Regions from separate parts of the Homo sapiens genome. Here all the other regions are linked to region 2. The links are contacts of gene promoters, found by promoter capture Hi-C in blood cells and fetal thymus (Javierre and others, 2016). All regions are on one chromosome and are shown on one strand. The core of a region is centred on a gene start or on the middle of the fragment in contact, and the rest is flanking DNA. Distances in the headings are between cores, read along the strand shown. Region 1 has its middle 71 kb from the start of SPMIP7. Region 2 holds the start of DDC (dopa decarboxylase). Region 3 overlaps COBL (cordon-bleu WH2 repeat protein).

Region 1 (4,256 bases), core at 1,026-3,525, 400 kb after region 2:
CTCAAAAAATAATAATAAAAAAAAGAGGACATGGTACATCGTGATGGCTCCTGGGGCTAGGCAGGGTGGGGAAGGGCTACTTGTTTCATGGACTGTACCTGCAGGCCAAGAAGTGGTGCCAAGGCGTGTTTCAGAGGATAATGATTTTTAATATTCACGATTGGTAATATGTATTGATTGCGTCTAACGTGCCAGGTACTTCTGCATATTCTCTTCTTCAACATCCACAACAACCTACATCTTCCCAGTGAGAAATGGGAGGCTTTGAGGACATAAATTCCATGCCACAAATCAGTGTGAGTGCTGGATCCTGTGTCCTAACCTCTCCCGGAGCAGCAACTCTGACATAGGCCAGGTGCGTGGCTTCCCGGGTAGGGCCTAGTGCAGCACACAGCCACTGTCCAAGGGAATAGGTTATGGCTTTAATGGTATTTCCATGTGAACTTTGAAGTTGTAGAAAGTTAGAAACTTAGGGAAATAAAAACTAAGTATTAGGGAAAATTTCTACCAAGAAGGCAAATACTCTTGTCCCACAGCCAGAGGCGGGGGTACGTGAGCGTCAGTCTCAGCACAGTTGGAATTTCCGCGTGCCCAGAACGGCTGCTCCTCTCCTCACCCCTGCTAAACATCCCTCCCCCTGCCTCTCCCTGCCCCCTTCAATGCTGCCCCTCAGGCAGGAAGTGAACAGGAGCAATTCACTCACAAGGGGTGCCTCTGGGGAAAAGGGTGGCCTCTCTGCAGGGTGTGCCAGAAAGGAAGGGGTGTTGTCACTGTGAAGAGGGCTGGGGCTTGCTCTCAGGAGCCCCAGACTCCAGGAACCTTGAAGGACAAACGATGAAGAATTGAAAGGAACTAGAATCAAACCACAACCAAAACAACGTCACTGCCCTGCCTTAGCTAAGCTAACCTTTTAAGCAGAAGAGGGTAAAGGTTTTGTAAAGGTCCCAGTGGTTTGGAGAAATATCCCATGCTCTCACCTCTGCAGCACCATGGAGTTCACGCCTGAGCTCCAGGAGCCCTCCCCAGGCATAGCCTGGCATCCAGCATGAGGATCTGGCTGTCAAGCTGAGTGAAAGGCTGGGCCATGCACCCACGGGCAGCCCATGAGCCTTCACAGAGCCTGTACTCCATCTGGGGAGAATCTTTGCTTGGTTCCACTGGTTTTCAGAGCCAAGAACTGACTTCACTGCACAAATGCTCACAGTAGCCCCAAAAGAGCAGCGACCACTCATCCTTGGGAGGTTGTGAAGTCCCCCGTGTGTAGATCAAAGGAATCCACGTGTGCTCCTGTGGGGCATTTACTCAAGACAGCTCCTCGCGAACATGAGAGGAAGGTGCTGGCCTGCTGGGCCTGGTAGCTGCTGTAAGGGGAGCATGCCTTGGCCCAGTCTCTGCTGTGCATCCCCTTTTCTGGCTCTCCCTCCTTCCCTACCTGCTTCCTCAGCTCCTTGGCTGAGGTTCCTGTCATTTCAGGGCCCTGCCTGGCCCTCCCAGGTGTCTGAACACCACATGGCCTTTCCCTTGTCATCCTCGGAGTCGCAGAAAGCCCAGTGGCTCTTCCTCCCCTGTGTGTATTTCAGTTGTGTTTAAAGCTTACTCAGGAGAGGTCCTTTTATTTTGCTACTGGTAAATTCATTATTAAATAATTCTTGAAGAGATACAGGCCACTGATTTTCTGCAATTTGCATCACCACACTTTAACTTATATTGAAAGCTGAGGCTTTTGGTCTTCTAGTTTTAGAAGTATATTAATATTTCTGTGACCTTTTCCAGATGGCAGTTGAGAAATACTCTTTTAAATAGCAAGACCGAGAAAACCAATAACCTAAAATGAATATTTCTGACCCGAGTTTAATGAGCAAATTAGGAAAGATAAGTTTTTTCCCAAAGAAAAAATGAAGTCAAGGGGACTTCTAAGTTCAGATAAAATGATATGTCTATATCTATCCATATTCCAAGATATTCAAAGACGGATAGATATACAAAATATTGGAATATGAATATATTGATATATAACGTGAATATATGAATATATCCATATTCCAATTTTTGTAGACGTGGATTCAGATACATCTTTTGATATGCTGTAGCACTTTACACCCCTTTAAATTCCATATTATATCTTACATAATCTGCTTGCATATTAAAAGGATTACACATTTAGTATCCGGATGACAAAATGAAAGATAAGAGAAGCTGTCTGCTCAGCATGGAGGGTGGCTGCCTCAACATAGATCAGCAGCGAGCACACAGCATCTTCTGGTTTCCTGCTGAATGCTCCTCTGTTTCCATAAACGTTGGCCCAAGTGTGGCAGGGCCAAACTTGCCAATAAAACCTGGATTTAGGCTGGGCACGGTGGCTCACACCTGTAATCCCAGCACTTTGGGAGGCCGAGGCAGGCAGATCACGAGGTCAGGAGTTCGAGGCCAGCCTGTCCAATAAGGTGAAACCCCGTCTTTACTAAAAATACAAAAAAAATTAGCCTGGTATGGTGGTACGCGCCTGTAATTCCAACTACTCAGGAGGCTGAGGCAGAATTGCTTGAACCCAGGAGGCGGAGGTTGCAGTAACCTGAGGTCATGCCACTGCACTCCAGCCTGGGCGACAGAGTGAGACTCTGTCTCAAAAACAACAACAACAACAACAACAAACCTGGATTTGATTTTGCAGCCATGAGGCTGCTTCCTGGGAGGGGTCCCAATGGCTGAGGAAGGTAGAGTTGCAGTGGTTTCTCCCACCGCTATCCACATTGTTGAGCTCGGTTCAGCATAAGCTGGACCTCACACTTTGAACACTGAGCTTCTTACCAAGGCCTGTGCCTTAACAGAGGCCACTCCACCATGATGCATGCCAAGGAAGCAACCAGAAGGCCAAGACTTTCCTTAGAAACCAGTCCAGGTGCTCCCAGCAGCATTTGACATGACTGTTATCCTTGTAGTCTATTTAGGCAAGCTTTAGATTATGGACTAGGAGTCTACAATTGCTCACATGATCTTAGAATCATCCCAGGAAAGGACCCATAGGGCATCTACCTTGAAACACTGACTTTTTAGTAAACTTCTCAGGGAAGACTTTGGTTGTATGTCTTCTTAGATAACTGAGTATGAAAGCATAGTACTAAGCCGTTAAATGTTGGGGAATATTTACTCAATATACTAATTTGTGATTGGAAGTCATTCTTTCCAGCAAGTAGACAACAGTCAGTGTTCTGATACCACCCCCTACCCTCAGCTATCAGACATCAGTTCTCCTTGATTTCTGCTTTGCCCAGCACGGTTCCCACTCAGCCCACAGCCCTGCCCTGAGCTCAGCAATCCTGCATTGGAACTGTGCTTAGCACTGTGGGGTTGCCATCCCAGGGCTGTGTCTGGGCCCTGCCCATGGGTCCCTCCAGAGCAGACAGCCTCAATCCTGTGACACTGGCCTTCCAGTGCAGATACCCCAACCTTCCACAATGTGCACCCTACAACCTCAGGGCACCACACCCTCAGCGCCTCTTCCCCACCCCTCCTCTGCCCAGACACCTCTTCCTGCCTGTCCTCACCGGCCCATTGCTGTCTCACTTTATCTTTTATCTTGTGGCTCTGCCCACGGAAGACACAATAAAAACAATGTACCAGCACTGGAAACGTAGATTAACACTGAACACTTTTTAGGGCTTTATTTCCAAAGTGTGCATGTAAGGAAGTAAATCTGTTTCCATTTACAGTTTACAAACTAGAACCAATGGGATTTGCCCTGGAAACCCAGTCTGGGTAACCAGCCAAGTCTGGGCCGGCACAGAGGAAACCAGCGCTCTTCCTGTGCACCTGTAATTAGCAGGTAAGATGAACAGGGCTGAAACAGCTCTTCAATGTCAATTTCACCACTCCATGAGGAATCTACATTTATAGAGGGTGAAATGGGAATTGCTTTGACAACAGTAATTGTGAGTATTATATTTAAACCAACCATAATGAAAAAAATACAATGGCGTCAAATAAAACCACAGTATTGTTTCTGAATATCATTTGGATAGGATGCATAAGGGTGTATTACAACACAAAGTAAAAGAAACAAAAAACAAAACAAAACAAAACAAAACAAAAAAACACTGAAAACCATGTCACCCAGCCCAGAGTCTGTACTGTGCTAAAGGGAGCAAATAGATTAAATTTGGAATATTTTCACTTATTAGAAAATAATTCTGGGTTGGTAAGTTATTCCTACTATTGGATAATTGCCTTCTCTGACCACAAGGGCAATTTGGACAATT
Region 2 (4,016 bases), core at 1,517-4,016:
CCACTCTGGCATCATGAGAGATGGCCGTTGCTGCTCCTGTGGAAGAGCAGACTCACCCTCTTCCAGGAACAGCCTTGGCTGCAACCCATGCTACCTTCCCCTGCCCTGGGGCATTACAAGGTCACACGAGATCAGCCTTTCTCAACCAGGGGCAATTTTGCCACCAGGAAACATGCAATGCCTGGAGACATTCTTGGTTGTCACAACTGGGGACTACTGGCACCTAATGAGTAAAAGCCGGATGCTGCTAAACATTCTATAATGCACAGGACAGCTCCCATCACAGAGAATTATACACCCTTAATGTAATAGTGCTGGGATGGTTAATGTTATGTGTCGACTGAAGTGGGCTAAGAGATGCCCAGAGGGCCAGTAAAGCAGGATTTCTGGTTGTGTTCATGAGGGTGTTTCTGGAAGAGATTGGCATTGGAATCTCCAGAAAGTAAACAAGATCCATCCTCACCAGTGTGGGCTGGTAACATCCAGTTTGTTGAGTGCCAGAATAGAACAAAAAGGTGGATGAAGGGCAAATTCTTTCTCTTCTTGAGCTGGGATATCCATCTTCTCCTGCTCTTGGGCCTTCAAACTCAGGATGAATTACACCACCAGCTTATCTAGTTCTCCGGCCTGTAGATGGAAGACTGTGGGACTTCCCAGCCTCCATAATCACATGAGCCAATTTCTACAATAAATCTCTTCTTATATTCCTATATCCATATCCTATTATTTCCAGTTTTCTGGAGAAACCTGACTGATAAAGTGCCATGGTTGGGAAATCCTGCCCTAGATTTCTTTCTTTGGTCCTCGAAGCCTCACCCCTATTCCCCATAAATCCCACACCTGCAAGAAGAAAGGAAATGTAAAAAGAGTCCCTTCTGGGAACGGATGCTGATTCCTATGTAGATTTCTCTATTGAGAGATAACTGTTGCTCAGTAGTTGGACACTACTAGTTCACTTTTTTGAGGATTTCAAAACTGAGGTCTCTCTTCTCTATGGATGTTTTTTTTCCAGTCCTATTGCTTCAAATATCATCTAAACACTTTCAACCCATAACTTTATTTCCTGTCTGGGCCTCTTTTTCTGAGCTGTACTGGACATCTCAAATCACACGATTTGTGGATATCTGAAATTTAATTCCCAAACTGAATCCTTGGTGTCCTTCACCTCCCCACACCCAATACTGGTCCACCCCAGTCTTCTTCCTCTCAGTCTATGACCGTCATCCCCTGCCCACTGGCTTCATCACTGGGTAGTCGTTCCATCCCCTTGACTCCTCCCCTTGTCCAGCAACCTCCTAACATGCACACACACACACGCACTTATGGGGAATATTAGCACGCTTCTTCATCTCAAGCCCCCCCTCCCTCCCCCAGCCCATCTCCTAGAATGGATTCACTTGAATTCACTCCTGGTTTGCAGGAAAGTGCAGAAATCCAAGGAATGTGGTGGGAATTGGTGGTCCAACTTAAAGGGTCTAACCCTTTCACCCTTATCTCCCTCTGATCCATTTTCTACCCCAGAGCCAGAGTGATCTTAAACCATAAGTAAGCTAAGGTTACTGCTTTCTAGAAACACTTCAATGCCTTCTATTACAGTTGGGGGGATACAAATTACGTAACGTGGCTTGCAAGACTCCCCCTCCCCTACTTTGAATGGTCCTTAGGAGTTGGCCTTCTGTCAGGGCCTGGGAGATGCCGAGCTTGATCCTCAGTAACTTTGCAGAGGCTGTTCCCTCTTTGGAGCCCTTCCCTCACTCTTCCCCTTACCAAGGACAATCACTTCTTCGGTTCTCAGCTCCTGTGAGACCCCAGGCGGGAGCATTTGGGTGTGCGTCATTGGAGGGCTCACTTGCCATTCTTTCTCTTTTCCCTCTTTCCTCCAATGGCTCCTGTGGAGGTTTTGAGACTCCTCAATGTCACTCTGCTTCTCTCTCCAGTTCCAGTCCTAACAATAGGAACCCTAGGTGCCCCGCCCCAGCCTGCTCCAGTCCCCTAGGATAGAGCAAGGAGAGCTCTTCCCTGCATCTAGCCTGTGACAAATGGCTCTAGTGACAGCCCTCTCTGCCTTGTTTCCAGTCCTTTAATGAGCTGCCCGCAGCCAGCCTCACTCTCACTCTGCTCTTCACACCCACTGAGCCCCACGCTTGGAGCTGCTGGGGGTCTGCCAGAAAGACCAGCTCCTAAGATCCCTGCAGGCTGTGCCTGCTCAACTTCTCAATGTGGCTTTCTCAGCCCTGCTTTGTGCTCTCATAAAATTCTATCGACTTTGGGGTTTTTTTATAAATTTGTCCAAATTCCACTCAGAGTATTGTTTCATGCATCTCAACTATGATTTTGATGGGTTTGGGGAAGGAAGGTGAGTTCCTGGGTTCTGCTGATATCTGAACCTGGAAATCTTACCCATATTGCTGAGTGCTGCACCGGGAAGTGCAGGCTTACTTTGGGGCTGCCTTCAGGGGCAGGAGGCTGTGTGCAATGCAGGCATCACCTGGTGCAGGGCTGGAACATATCAGATGACTTAATGGGCTCCAAACTTGAAATCAGGGCTGCTTAGTAAAAGATGGGATGTATGTAGAATTACATAAGAAAGATCCAAGCTTCCAGGATTTGGAATGAAACAGTCTCTTCAGAATGTGCTCTCAGGATTCCCAGAGGCGAGCTATTTCTCAAGATTTCCTTGACCTTTGTCACCATCAGGAATTAATGTTTAACTGGCACATGTGGCTGGAAATGCAAGAAGAGGGAAACGTGTGGCTTGGAGTTTCAAGAAGAGTGACTGTCTCAGTGCCGAGTGCCTCAGCAGCTTCTCCACATGCTCTTCAGTCCCCAAAGTTGGAGAATCCCATCAAGGAGAGTAGCCCTGTAAGGAATTCGAATTTCCAGCATGTAAGTCTCTGATTTTATACCTACTCAGATTGTAGTAGTGGAAAACAGCAACATGTACCTTGACTCTCTGGCCCCATGTTACTGAACATTTGCTTAAAGGTTAACTCACTTGAGGGAGCTTGTGTGGTGCTTTCTCTTCTGCTGCAGGCTGGCAGGGGTTTTTGTTCAGTGGGGGCTGTGCACTTGGTGGCTCTCCATGCACACACAGTCACTCCAGTGACACATGTTTGATAGGTGCTGGGAATGATTTCATGACTGGCTCAGTAGCAAATGCGGGCCAGATGTGATTCTATTTTTTCCATGCACCACCAGGGATGGTGTTGGGTATTTTATTCCCCCAGCCTCTGTTTCTTCTGTAAATGAGGATTTTCTTAGTATCTACCTTGTGAGGATTAAATCCCATGATTTTATGGAGGTGATTAGTAAATGTGAACTCTGCCCTTCCCTTTATAACATCTGAGGCTCCGTCAGGGCTCTCTCCTTTTGGTGTATGTTATAGTTTACTTAGAGGTCAATTTGGTGTCTACCTATGCAGTGTGATTTGAGGAGAATTAGAAGATCTTTCCCACCAACTTGCCATGCTGAGTACAATTCCCATCTGAAAACATATGCGGATAGGAATTTCTATTGGGAGAATTGTTCGGTTATCGACTTCAAGGAGTCGAAGTTCTCCTGGTTTTAAGTCTGTTGTCGGAAGTATATAAGAATCAAAGCTTAATCGATGGAAATCATTGCTCTCCATCATGCGTGAGTTAAAACCATTACTTCTGAGTGGTCAGTTTACATTGGGCTCTGTCTAGAAGGTTTGCCTTCTTCACCTCCAGTCACATCCCCATTTCACAAGTGAGCAAACAGCCAGAGGAGGGGAGGAGGATGGCATAAGATCTTGCAGCTGGCAGAGACGAAATGTGAATGTAGCCCGTTTGCACTTGGTGCTGTCGGGCAGCCAAGCAATCCAGTGTGTAGGTCCAGGGCGACAAGCGCTGCTCCCATGGCTGGGGTAAGTCCCTCCAGCATTCAGCCTTGCTCCCTGTGCTTATCTGGATGCGGTGTAGGATGAAGATGACCCTATAGAACTCTACCCTGGAAGTCCTGGCAAAGTGGATATGTGACATTTTTGAAACCAGGGA
Region 3 (4,068 bases), core at 645-3,144, 450 kb before region 2:
TTCAGAAGGCCTGGAATGTACAAGTACCCTCCTAATCCATGTGTATATTTAAAACATTCATGTCTAGTGCTTCATTCTACAAGCATTTCCGGAGAACCTACTAGGGTCCGGGCACTGTCGGAGCTGCTTGTGATAGACGAAAGAAGCTTCATCTGTGCCCTCAGGACCTCTCAGCCAGAGGAAGGGGGCAGGGGTGCGGGGTCTGCTATTGACCTTAGGAACTTTTCCAAAGAAGCTGGGACAGGCTAATCCCGATGACTTGTGGATCTTTCCTCCCAGGAGGGCAGCGGGGCAAGCATCTACCCCGACACCTTCCTGGAAGTCAAGGTCGTAGCTCCCCTTTGACAGGTGCGAAAATGGGGCACAGACATCATAAGTGACTTCTCCCAGCCCTTCCGTGTGTCCTGCTGCTGCTGGGCCCAGACACCTTATCAGCTCCTAGCCGCTTTGGGAAACGTCCTATTGAACTGAGTTCCAGTCTCTTGTCTGGGCCCTCAGGTGCCTGTTTTCCCACGGCAGGAATTAATTGATGCGGGCCACACGCGTCATGACACTTGGCCTTGACCACAGACCTTGTAAGAAATGATTAGACATGTGACAGTAACAGGAGGCCCCAAACCAGGAAAGAGAAAAAACACACCAACTCTCTTTTCATCTAAGCCCTAGGTCCTCATATGTGCATTAGAGAACTCCAAGTTGCTGTGACGAGGGAATAGCAATTTCTATCAGGATGTGAATGTGACCCACAATACAATTGCATCACCCCTGGTTTAGTTGCTCGTAATGTAAACCTGTGGTGTGCTTTGGTTAATGTGAAATTGTTCTGAGGCCTAGGGGTCAGTTCTGTCTTTGCAGACTCTTTGCGTGTGACTGTTCTGCTTATTGCAGCTCTACTGAGTCAGCTGCCTCTTCTGCAGGTAGAACGGGGAGGAGCCTCCTGGGAGAAGCACACCTACCACAGTGACCATCCTCAGGGCCAGCAAATGCTGTTCTCCACTCCTCCAGAGCTGTTCCCCACATTTGACCAGCTCATTCCTGACTCATCCCTTTGTTCCTTTATTAACCTCACGTCTTCAGAAAGCCTCCCTCAGTCTAGATTAGGTTCCCAATACAGCGTCACATAATTTTTCCTTCATAATGCAAACCACAGCTCTAATTTCTCTAGCAGTTGGTGTGGTTTTTGTTGGATGCTTGCCTTCCCTTCCACATCACAAGTTCCATGAGTCTTGCCCATCGTGTCATGTGATGGAAGGGTAGACACGCTCCCTGGTGCCTCCTTGATAAGGCCACCAATCCCTTCATGAGGTTCAACCCCCATGACCTCATCAAATTCCAGAGTCCCACCTCCTAATACCACCATCTTGGAGGTTGGGATTTCAGCATGTGAATTTGGGAGCACACAAGCATTCAGACTGTAACACTCCCCCTATTAATAAGTGGGGCCCTCAGGAAACATCTGGCTAAGTGGAGCACTGTGTTTGTACAAGTAGATCAGAGGTGTCTGATCTTTTGCCTTCCCTAGGCCACACTGGAAGACAAATTGTGTTGTACCACATATAAAAAACACTAACGATAGCTGGTGAGCTTAAAAAAAATTGCAAAAAAAATCATATATATATATATATATATATATATATATATATATATATATATATATTTTTTTTTTTTTTTGAGATGGAGTTTCTCTCTTGTTGCCCAGGCTGGAGTGCAATGGTGCGATCTCAGCTCATGCAACCTCTACCTCCCGGGTTCAAGCTATTCTCTTGCCTCAGCCTTCTGAGTAGCTGGCATTACAGGCATGTGCCATCATGCCCAGCTAATTTTTTATTTTTAGTAGAGACGGGATTTCTCCATGTTGGTCAGGCTGGTTTCGAACTCCCGACCTCAGGTGATCTGCCCGCCTTGGCCTCCCAAAGTGCTGGGATTTCAGGTGTGAGCCACTATGCCCACCCTCATAATGTTTTAAGAAAGTTGACGAATTTGTATTGGGATACATTTAAAGTGGTCCCAGGCCATGAGTTGGACAGGCTTGAAGTAGATGTTAAATCCCCACCATGGGAGTTCAGGAAGAGGGCCCGAGAGAACCTAGAGAAGAGAGGGATATGGAGGAGCATCAGGAAAAGGGCAGGTGCGCCCAGTGTCAAGACAGACCCGGGTGGTGTCGATCCTCCCAGTTCTTCTGGGCCTTGGGGCTTCACTTCCTCATCTGTAAGATTGATGCGAGGGATGTGTGAGAGAGCATGCACAGGGCAGGGTCTGCATCACCACCACCATCACCATCACCATCACCATCACCACCACCACCACCATCGTCACCACCACAGTTACCACCACCATCACCACTGCCACAACCACCGCCATCACCACCACCACGATTACCATAACCACCGTTACCACTGCCACCACCACCACAATTAACCACCATCACCACATGGAAAGTACCTAGAATACTTCCTGTGTGCTTACCATGTGCCAGACACCATTTAAAGTGTGACACAAGTCCACTCATTAAAACATCAGCTTAACCAAACAAGCAGTTTATTATTGTCATTATTATGGGTATGTCTCCAATATAAAGATGAAGAAACTGAAGTTATAGAGGGTAACTCGTCCCACATCAAATGTTAGTCACGATCCTCTCAGGCACACCTGAGCAGAGGGCAAGGCCTCAGATGCGTACCCACACAGCCCAAGAGGCAGTGTCCTCTGTCTGGACCAGGACCCCAGGGCCCACCTCCCAGTTCCCTTGACCTCGGGCCTCTGCATCCTGCTAGTCGTCCTTCCCTGGCAGCTTTTACGAGGAAGCTGGAGCGTGAGAAGGTCTGTGAGGACAGCCCTGATCACAGCCTCCTTTCTGCAGGTCAAAGGAACTGGGAAGGGGGTTCCAGGAGTACTATTGCAAGAGTGGCTGTGCACAGAGCTCTCTAGCACCAGAAGATCTGCATCCTGGGCTTATTGACATACCAAATAACTGTGAATCTCTCTTCCCTGCAGGTGCCCTTGCTCGTGTGAATGAACAGAGGCCAGAGAATTGCAGAAACCCACCTGTAATATGCCCACAGGCGTCACTCAAGGAGTCTGCATAGCCAGGAACATCAAGTTTTGGTGTTACTTTCTTGTCTACAGGCCAAATGCGCACAGTTGATTTTCGGTGTGTTCCTGTATAACGGCTTGAAAGGAAAGGAGAAGATGCTGTGTCGCTGCGCAGCTCGTGTGCCAAGGAAATGTGTTTTGCCTCTGAATATCTTAAGTTGCTAATAAACGATTCTTGTTGGCAGGTTAATGGGACTATAAATGCTGGAGCCCAGCACTCACACTTAATTATATTTATGGGCAAAGTAAAAAGAATCATGCCTTAGACTGATTTTGGACCTTTGAGACTTTTACCACATACAGATGGATGAAACTACTTACTGATTTAAGATCTTTTGAATTTTAGAAAAAACATATGAATCAGATGGAACAATCTGAATGTGATATGCTCCATGATGCTGTGTGTTTTGGTAGTAAGAAAAAAAAATTGGGAGGCTTTTCAAAGGTGGCTTTGTTAGGTAGTAAAACTGCTGGATTCTTCTTCCTCAAATATTTGGGGCTAACACTTCACAGAGGGTCACAGTCCATGATCTGACCAACTAAGCTTTTAAAAATCAACTATTACCACCCAGAAAACAGTCCTACGTGATCATGTGGCCAGGGCATGCCCGAGTCCTGCAAGGGTGGCGGGTGGCTGAGGTCACACCACCACTGGAGTGGATGGGCAGTGCCCCACATGGACAGCCATTCCCCAGGCTATGAAGTGACATAGGCCTCCCCCACGGTGCCTGTGTACGGAGCCTGATGACTTCACTGGGAGCCTTCTGGAATCCTGCAGAGGGTCAAGGAGCAGGGATGTTGGATGCCCACCTGTCAAGAGTTCAGATCAAAGTTGCGCTGAGAGCATCACAATTTTGGTTCAGCCTTGACGCGTTTGTCCAACAGCTCATTGGCTCCCTTTGTATGATATCGTGGTCTTCTCACATGGTGCCCAGTCACCAATATTTATAATGAGGTCTAACTACAGCAGTAGTT

Evidence for each region. Contacts are between HindIII fragments. The CHiCAGO score rates a contact against its expected background, and 5 or more counts as called.
Region 1: a fragment that was not itself captured here is called in contact with the fragment with the promoter of DDC in region 2 in 4 of 17 cell types (neutrophils, total CD8 T cells, naive B cells and 1 more); the score reaches 8.8 in neutrophils.
Region 3: a fragment that was not itself captured here is called in contact with the fragment with the promoter of DDC in region 2 in 1 of 17 cell types (erythroblasts); the score reaches 6.5 in erythroblasts.

The regions. Positions count from the first base shown.
Region 1 is chr7:50,164,278-50,168,533 of GRCh38, reverse strand. No RefSeq gene overlaps it. Among named protein-coding and RNA genes, the nearest start is that of SPMIP7, 71 kb to the right of the region's middle. The HindIII fragment of the contact is 1,361 bases long and covers 1,595-2,955 here.
Region 2 is chr7:50,564,155-50,568,170 of GRCh38, reverse strand. It overlaps DDC (dopa decarboxylase), which reads left to right and starts at 2,766. Exons shown (of 15, transcript NM_001082971.2): 1 at 2,766-2,886. The HindIII fragment of the contact is 1,002 bases long and covers 2,600-3,601 here.
Region 3 is chr7:51,016,495-51,020,562 of GRCh38, reverse strand. It overlaps COBL (cordon-bleu WH2 repeat protein), which reads left to right. Exons shown (of 13, transcript NM_015198.5): 13 at 2,995-4,068. The coding sequence ends at 3,012. Among named protein-coding and RNA genes, the nearest start is that of GRB10, 240 kb to the right of the region's middle. The HindIII fragment of the contact is 3,491 bases long and covers 149-3,639 here.